Linked DNA regions of Homo sapiens: region 1 is linked to region 2. The links are contacts of gene promoters, found by promoter capture Hi-C in human tissues and cell types (Jung and others, 2019). All regions are on one chromosome and are shown on one strand. Each heading gives the region's core, a stretch centred on a gene start or on the middle of the fragment in contact. The rest is flanking DNA. Distances are from core to core; before and after follow the strand shown. Region 1 has its middle 23 kb from the start of C12orf71. Region 2 holds the start of MRPS35 (mitochondrial ribosomal protein S35).

The links. The method cuts DNA at HindIII sites, captures the fragments that hold promoters and counts their contacts. A contact is called where the count stands out against the background at its distance.
Region 1: a contact is called between a fragment that was not itself captured here and the fragment with the promoter of MRPS35 in region 2, in 1 of the 25 tissues and cell types used here (lymphoblastoid cells).

The regions. Positions count from the first base shown.
Region 1 is chr12:27,057,600-27,061,328 of GRCh38, forward strand. No RefSeq gene overlaps it. Among named protein-coding and RNA genes, the nearest start is that of C12orf71, 23 kb to the right of the region's middle. The HindIII fragment of the contact is 4,112 bases long and covers 43-3,729 here.
Region 2 is chr12:27,709,185-27,712,793 of GRCh38, forward strand. It overlaps MRPS35 (mitochondrial ribosomal protein S35), which reads left to right and starts at 1,648. Exons shown (of 8, transcript NM_021821.4): 1 at 1,648-1,771. The coding sequence starts at 1,660. It overlaps MRPS35-DT (MRPS35 divergent transcript), which reads right to left and starts at 1,563. Exons shown (of 5, transcript XR_001749448.2): 1 at 1,479-1,563. RefSeq lists enhancers at 1,079-1,158, 1,189-1,268, 1,279-2,068. The HindIII fragment of the contact is 7,635 bases long and covers 1-3,609 here.

The sequences.
Region 1 (3,729 bases), core at 849-3,348, 650 kb before region 2:
CAACACCAAGTTTTGGTGAGGATACAGAGCAAATGGAACTCTCATACGTTGCTCATGGGAATGCAAATTTGTACACCACTTTGGAAAAATTTTTGGCAGTATCTACAAAGCCAAACATACACAAACTCGTTGAACCAGCAATTCCACTCTTGAGTATGAACACTACAGAAGTGAGTGCTTATATCCACCAAAAGACATGGATGAATGTGTTCATAGCAATTACAGTAATGGCCCTAACCTGATAAAAATTCAAATGTTCATCGTGAGTCAAATGAATAAATAAATTGTGAATGAATGATAGTGATATAATAATGATACAGAAATAAAAATGAACAAACCACATTCAACAACATAGATGAACTCACACACAAAATATTGAAAGAAGATAGACATAAAAATAATATATTGTATGATTTCATTTGTATGTAGTTCAAAAACAAGTAGAACTAATCTGTGGTAAAATTCAGATAGTCATCATTTTTAATGAAGTATTGATGGAATGGCAGGAGGAAGCTTTGTGGAATGCTGGAAATGTCTGTATCTTTAGTTGATGCTTATGTAAAAATTCATTAAACTGTATATGTAAGATTTATGCACCTTACTCTGCATATAAGTTATCTCAAGAATAAATAAATGGGTTGGTTGAGAGTTATATCCATATATCAGTAGACAGAATGATGGTGAATAAAATAAGCTTGATATTTGATTTTATAGGTATCAATAAGAATTCTTGGGTGGAACATGTATATGGAATATAGAATTTAAGTGAAACTTTGGTTAAAAATATGTAATATGCTGGGTGTGGTGGCTCACACCTGTAATCCCAGCACTTTTGGAGGCCAAGACAGGCAGATTGTTTGAGCTCAGAAGTTTGAAACCAGCCTGGGCAACATGACAAAACCCTGTCTCTACTAAAAATACAATGGTATTTGTATTTTTATATTAGGGAAGCATCTTTTAAAAAGTAATTAATTAATTAATTAATTAATTAATTAAAAAGGTCTTGCTGCATTGCCCAGGCTGGTCCTGAACTCCTGGTCTCAAGTGATCCTCCCAGCTACTCAGGAGGCTGATGTGGGAGGACTGCTTGAGCCCAGGAGGTTGAGGCTGCAGTGAGCCATGATCGCGGTACTCCAGCCTGGGCAACAGAGTGAGACTTGTCTCAAAAAAAAAAAAAGGTAATATAATGTGAATAATAATAGTAGTATAGTAGTCAAAGTGCCTATTTGCAGAAAAAACAACTAGAAAACAAAAGTGAAGGAGATTTGGGCTATTTGCATTTCCTAAATAAATTATGTCATACAGAATATCATCATCATAAAAGTCAATAGGTTTTCTGGGGAGAAAGTACCATGTTTGTATATTTCAGTGTCTAGTCAGAACAATATAAATAACTCTAGGTATTTCCCAAAATATGGTGTACAAAATACTGTAGTCATACAACATGTTAATATGTTTTCTTGGGGGAAAATACCATGTTTGTATATTTAAGTGATCTATCAGAACAACAGAAACCACTCTAGGTATTTCTAACACTGAGCCATTAACACAGCGGGTAGTTTGCAAAAGTGTTAGTGGAGCTGAAGAGACAAAAAGGTGAATGGATGCTACCCAGATATCAGTAAGTACTGGAAGCTGCCAACTCCCAAGGCTGGAGGAGCAAAAGGGAAAGGAACATTGCTCAGATCCCATGAGTGCTGTGCTGCTGAGACTTCTAACACCACACTGCCACTGCTGTTTTGCAGGAAGCTAGGAATTCCAGTGATCGCACAGGATTCTGGGAGCCACAGTCCCATTTTTGCTGAACTCCTGGCCTCAAGAGATCCTCCTGCCTCGGCCTCCCAAAGTGCCAGGATTACGGGTATGAGCCAGTGTGCCCAGCCTACATCTACCTCTTTACTTCTGGATTTCTCAAAACCTTTCATATGCTACTGTGTTCAAAAGAGAGTTATAGTTGATGGCACTTCTCATTTTATATGATTGAAGACGTATTATTTTCCCCCACAGAACACATTTGTAACATCTGATAAGACCTCAGACTAGAATAAAAACAGAAACAAACAAAAATGCTATTGTTGTTGGAGTATAATAAGGACATAGAACAGCAGATTATATAAAAAAATGCTTCCTTATCTGAGTGGCTCACACCTGTAATTGGAGCACTTTGGGAGGCCGAGGTGAGAGGATCACTTGAACCCTGTTCAGGACCAGTCTGGGCAATGCAGCAAGACCTTGTCTACAAAAACTTTTCAAATTAATTAATTATTTTTAAAAAGATGCTCTCCTAACATAAATTATAAACATTTCAGAGGGGCAAGTAAAAGTGGCATGTAAGAATCCAAATATACCAACATTCTGAAAACTAATTATCTTAAAGGGATACTATTGACAAATTCTTACATTTTTTTCTTTCTTTCTTTTTTTTTGGAGACAGATTCTTACTCTTTTCCCAGGCTGGAGTGCAGTGGCATGATCGCAGCTCACTGCAGCCTCCACCTCCTGGGTTCCAGAGACCCTCCTGCCTCAGCCTCTCGAGTAGCTGGGACTACAGGCGCCTGCCACCACACCCGGCTAATTTTTGTATTTTTAATAGAGACGGGGTTTCGCCATGTTGGCCAGGCTGGTCTCAAACTCCTGACCTCAGGTGATCTGCCAGTCTTGGGCTCCCAAAGTGCTGGGATTACAGGCGTGAGCCACCTTGTGCAGCTAAAATTCTTGCATTTTTTGAGTCTTGTGTTAATGGTCATTTATTATTTTGGTAGCTCATTATATGACCACCTTCCTCTTTGGGAGAGTCACAAGGGGAAATATAAGGAATGCCAGTCTCTGTTTACTACATGGAAGCTGCAGGGGAATGATAGTCTTTCTCCTTTTTTTTTTTTAGACAGAGTCTTGCTCTGTCTTCTAGAGTGCAGTGGCACGACTTTGGCTCACTGCAACCTCCGCCTCCTGGCTTCAAGCCATTCTCCTGCCTCAGCCTCCTGAGTAGCTGGGATTATAGGCAACTGACACCACACCTGGCAAATTTTTGTATTTTTAGTAGAGATGGGGTTTCACCATGTTGGTCGGGCAGGTCTTGAACTCCTGATCTTATGCAGTCCACCTGCGTTGGCCTCCCAAAGTGCTGGGATTACAGGCACGAGCCACCCTGCCTGGCCCAGCCTTTCTCCTTAATTCTGGTAGCTAGAGCATGGACTGTAACATGAGTACAGTTACTTTATCTACAGAGACATTGTAAGTTCAGAGGCCTGAGAGTTAGCATCCAGAGGCAGCAGACACCAGCAGCACAGCTGTTTCTCCCGCAGGATCATTGCCAGCAGAACATCCTACACCAATGGCTCTTTGGGCAGGATCTTGGCTGTGCTTTGTCTGTCTAGCTTCATGCCTAAGTTTGGTAAGTTTTCTTGCTTATTGTGCAACCTTTAACCCTTCCCCAAATTATTTTTCTCCTTAACGGAGCCAGATTTATTTTCTGTTGTTTGCAACCAATAACTCTAACTAAAACATTCTTAGAAAGTAGAGAAAACCAAAATGGCAAATAATATTCAAAAATTTTTTTCTAACCAACAAGAAAGAAAAGATTGGTTATATGGGAGAAAGTTACTATGAAATAATAGCATTCTAACAGAATGTATAGGTTTAAAAAAGCAGATTTATAAAGATTCAGAAAAACACTATATGATATGGTTTGGCTGTGTCCCACCCAAATCTCATCTTGAATTGTAGCTT
Region 2 (3,609 bases), core at 398-2,897:
GCACTGAATGTTCACAGCTAGAATATTCTTGGACACCTGCATACCTCTGCTCTACTGGTTGTATGCTTACCAAGAATCGGTTTTGTTTATTTTTAGTTGTTTTTACTGTTATAATTTTGTCACTTTGAGACAAAATAGGGAAATAGGCCAGACCCATGCCTGTAATCCCGACATTTTGGGAGGCCAAGGCAGGAGGATCACATGAAGCCAAGAGTTTGGGACCAGCCTGGACAACATAGCAAGACCCCCAACTCTACAAAAAACTTAAAAATAGAAAAAATAGGCCAGGTGCAGTAGCTCACGCCTGTAGTCCTATCACTTTTTTGGGAGGCCAAGGCAGGAGGATCGCTTGAACCCAAGAGTTTGAGACCAGCCCTGGCAACACTGTGAGACCTCATCTCTGGAAAAACAATTTTTTTTTTAATTAGCTGGGTGTGGTGGTGCGTGCCTGTAGCCTCAGCTACTTGAAAGGCTGAGGTAGGAGGATCACTTGAGCCTGGGAGGTCAAGGCTGCAGTGGGCCATGGTCCTGCTACCACATTCCAGCCTAGCAACAGAGCAAGACTCTGTCTCAAAAATAATAATAATTAATTAATTAATTAAAATAATTTTTAAAATAAAGAGAAAATAGAGAATTTATTTTATTTTATTTTATTTTTGAGGCGGAGTTTTGCTTTTATTGCCCAGGCTGGAGTGCAATGGCGCGATCTCGGCTCATCGCAACCTCTGCCTCCCGGGTTCATGCGATTCTTCTCTCGAGTAGCTGGGATTACAGGCATGTGCCACCACACCCGGCTAATTTTGTATTTTTAGTAGAGACCAGGTTTCTCCATGTTGGTCAGGCTGGTCCCAAACTCCTGACCTCAGGTGATCCACCCGCCTCGGGATCCCAAAGTGCTGGGATTACAGGCGCGAGCCACCGCGTCCGGCCGAGAATTGTTTTATTAAGGCTTGTATGTTAATTCATCCTACCGTAGAAAATTTAAGAGTGTTCATTAAAAGTTTATTTTCTAGGTCCTGATGAGTTCTGACTTTCTGTAATTCTAAGCTGATCTAACAACAAGCTAACCATATATAGCTAAAAGTTATAGGCTACGTACACGCGGTGTTCACTGTATGCCAACGCTGTACACAAATATTTGTCTATGCTAACTTGTCTGAGATCATACATCCCAGAAGTGGTGAAGTCAAGTTTGAAACCCAAGCACTCTGGCTCGGGATACTGCTTCTCTCCCCTTAGCGCATATTACTGGCATTAGTTGAAGACTTCTTTAATCCAAGTAAATGTAGAAAAGCAACAATTATAAATAACAAGAGTCCCTCGGGTAGACCGCCTGACTCTCGGATCAACTGAGGTTCCACCCAGAGCACGCCCGCCTTCAGTGAGCCGCAACCCCTATCCCTACGGTCTTTATCTGCAATTCTCTACGAACTGATTCACTCGATTTTTAAGGATTTTTTTTGTTTTCTTTTCATTACTTCTTTCAGTTTGGGGGAATCTTCCTGCACATTTGACTCGGCTCTGAGTGCGCAGACCAACGTGTTTCCTCTTTCTCCAGCCTAGGGCGGTGCCAGCCCAGGGAGCCTGCGCTTAGCGGCCCCAGGCCCGCCCCTGACACTGAACGCCGCTTGTCCCCTCCGGCTTGCCGTCCTCGCAGCCATGGCGGCCGCCGCGCTCCCAGCATGGCTGTCTCTGCAGTCGAGGGCAAGGACTCTGCGTGCATTCTCCACTGCCGTCTACTCGGCCACTCCGGTCCCGACACCTAGCCTGCGTGAGTGTCTGTCTCGTCTTCTCTGGGCTTTGGGGGAGGTGCAAGAGCGGAATACCGGCCTCATGAAGGGTGCCGCGGTGGCTGAGCCAGCGCCGCCCGGGGGAGGCCAGTGCGTCCGCTGCCAGGCCCGTCTGGTAGGAAAACCATGGACGTGGGTCTGTGCTCTGCACCCGCGTTGCCCGGCTTCTAGCCGCCTGTTTCTGCCCTGGGTGCTCTGGGAGTTTGCTCAGAAAGCTTACATCCCCCTTCCCCGTGACCTGCTCCTGTGTTGCCCCCGTCCACAGCCCCTGGCACAGGTTACTGGTGCTGTGTTGTTTATCGGGCATCGGCGCTGTTGAACCATGGATTTCCCCAAACATTAAGAGAGTCATACGGCTGTGCTAGGACAAATTGCTGCTCTGAATTCCAGGCCACCAAATGGGCGGCCTTCATTCAACAGGCGTTGATGACCTCCATTTAACAGAGATTGTAGGGATGCTTGATAGCGTGCTTACCCCGGAGGACTCTAGTGGAAAATACAGATTTATTAGCGGAGAAGTGCTATGTAGGGTGAGAGGCGCTGTGATAGAAGTGTGGCTAGAATGACGGGAGCGTTGAGGAGGAGCTGGCGTGAGTCTAATCAATAGGCGGATCCTACCTGTGCTACTTCCTGTTATATCTCTAATTTACTCTCCTCATACTACCAACTATCTAGTTCAGGTGACCATCTCATTTCTACAAGTTTTTTTTCCGTTTCCTGTTTCCCCTCTTGCTCTCCTACATTGAATTCTCAAAACAGCCAAATGAGGTTTTCAAAATTTAGATCTTGTCTTGCTGCTCTCATGTTCAAGATCTACAAATGGTTTCCCATTGTTTTCAGATAAACTATAAATACATTAATCCTTCATACTGGCTCTTCATAGGTCTAATAATTGTCTATTTTTAAATTTTCATTCTTAAATTCTTGGAATACTTAACTCCTATTGTATACCATGCAGTGTTCTAGACACTCACCGGAGATACGGCAAGGTGGGGAAGTCAATAGTATAAACAACCAAACAACTAAATAAGATGTCAGATAGGGTTTAATGCTTTGAAGAAAAATAAAGTAGAGTATTGAGAATGATGGATTTGGGGGGAGTAGTGGCCACAGGATGGTCAGGAAAGATCTTTCTGAGGAAGTGACATTTGAACAGGGCCCCAAGCCATGCAGAGATATGGGGAAAGAGCCTTTGGGGTATGGGGAACTATAAGTGCAAAGGCCAAAAGTTGAGAACAATCTGAGGGGTGTGATCAAGGAACGGGAAGAAGGACAATGTGGCAGGAGCTAAGTGTGAGTAGAGGAGAGAGTGGTAGTATAAGACGTCAGAGAGTTAGTTAAGTAATAATCTGATCTCTCAAGAGTTTGTAGACATTTCATTTGGATTTTTGGCTTGGGTTTTATATTGAAAGGCTTGGAACAGGGAACTGATATAATGTGATTTACGTTTTTAAAAGATCACTGGCTGCTTTACTGGGGTAAGAGTGGAAGCCAAAGATCTGTTTGGAGGCTGTTGCAGTAATCCAAATGAGGTGATGGTGACTTGGATTAAAGTAATAGTGGAGAAGGAGGTGTGGTTGTATTTGCGATATATTTTGAAGGTAAAGTTCATAGGATTTACTGATGGATTTGATGTGGGGCTTGAGGACAAGTCTCAAAAAAATCCTGTTACATTTTTGTTCTGAGCAATTGGATGAATGATGATTCCATGTACACGAATTGGGAAGACTGGAAGAAGAAAATCAAAAGCCCTGCCAAGGGGCTGAGTGTGGGGGCTCATTCCTGTAATCCCAGCACTGTGGGAGGTCGAGGCCTGCGG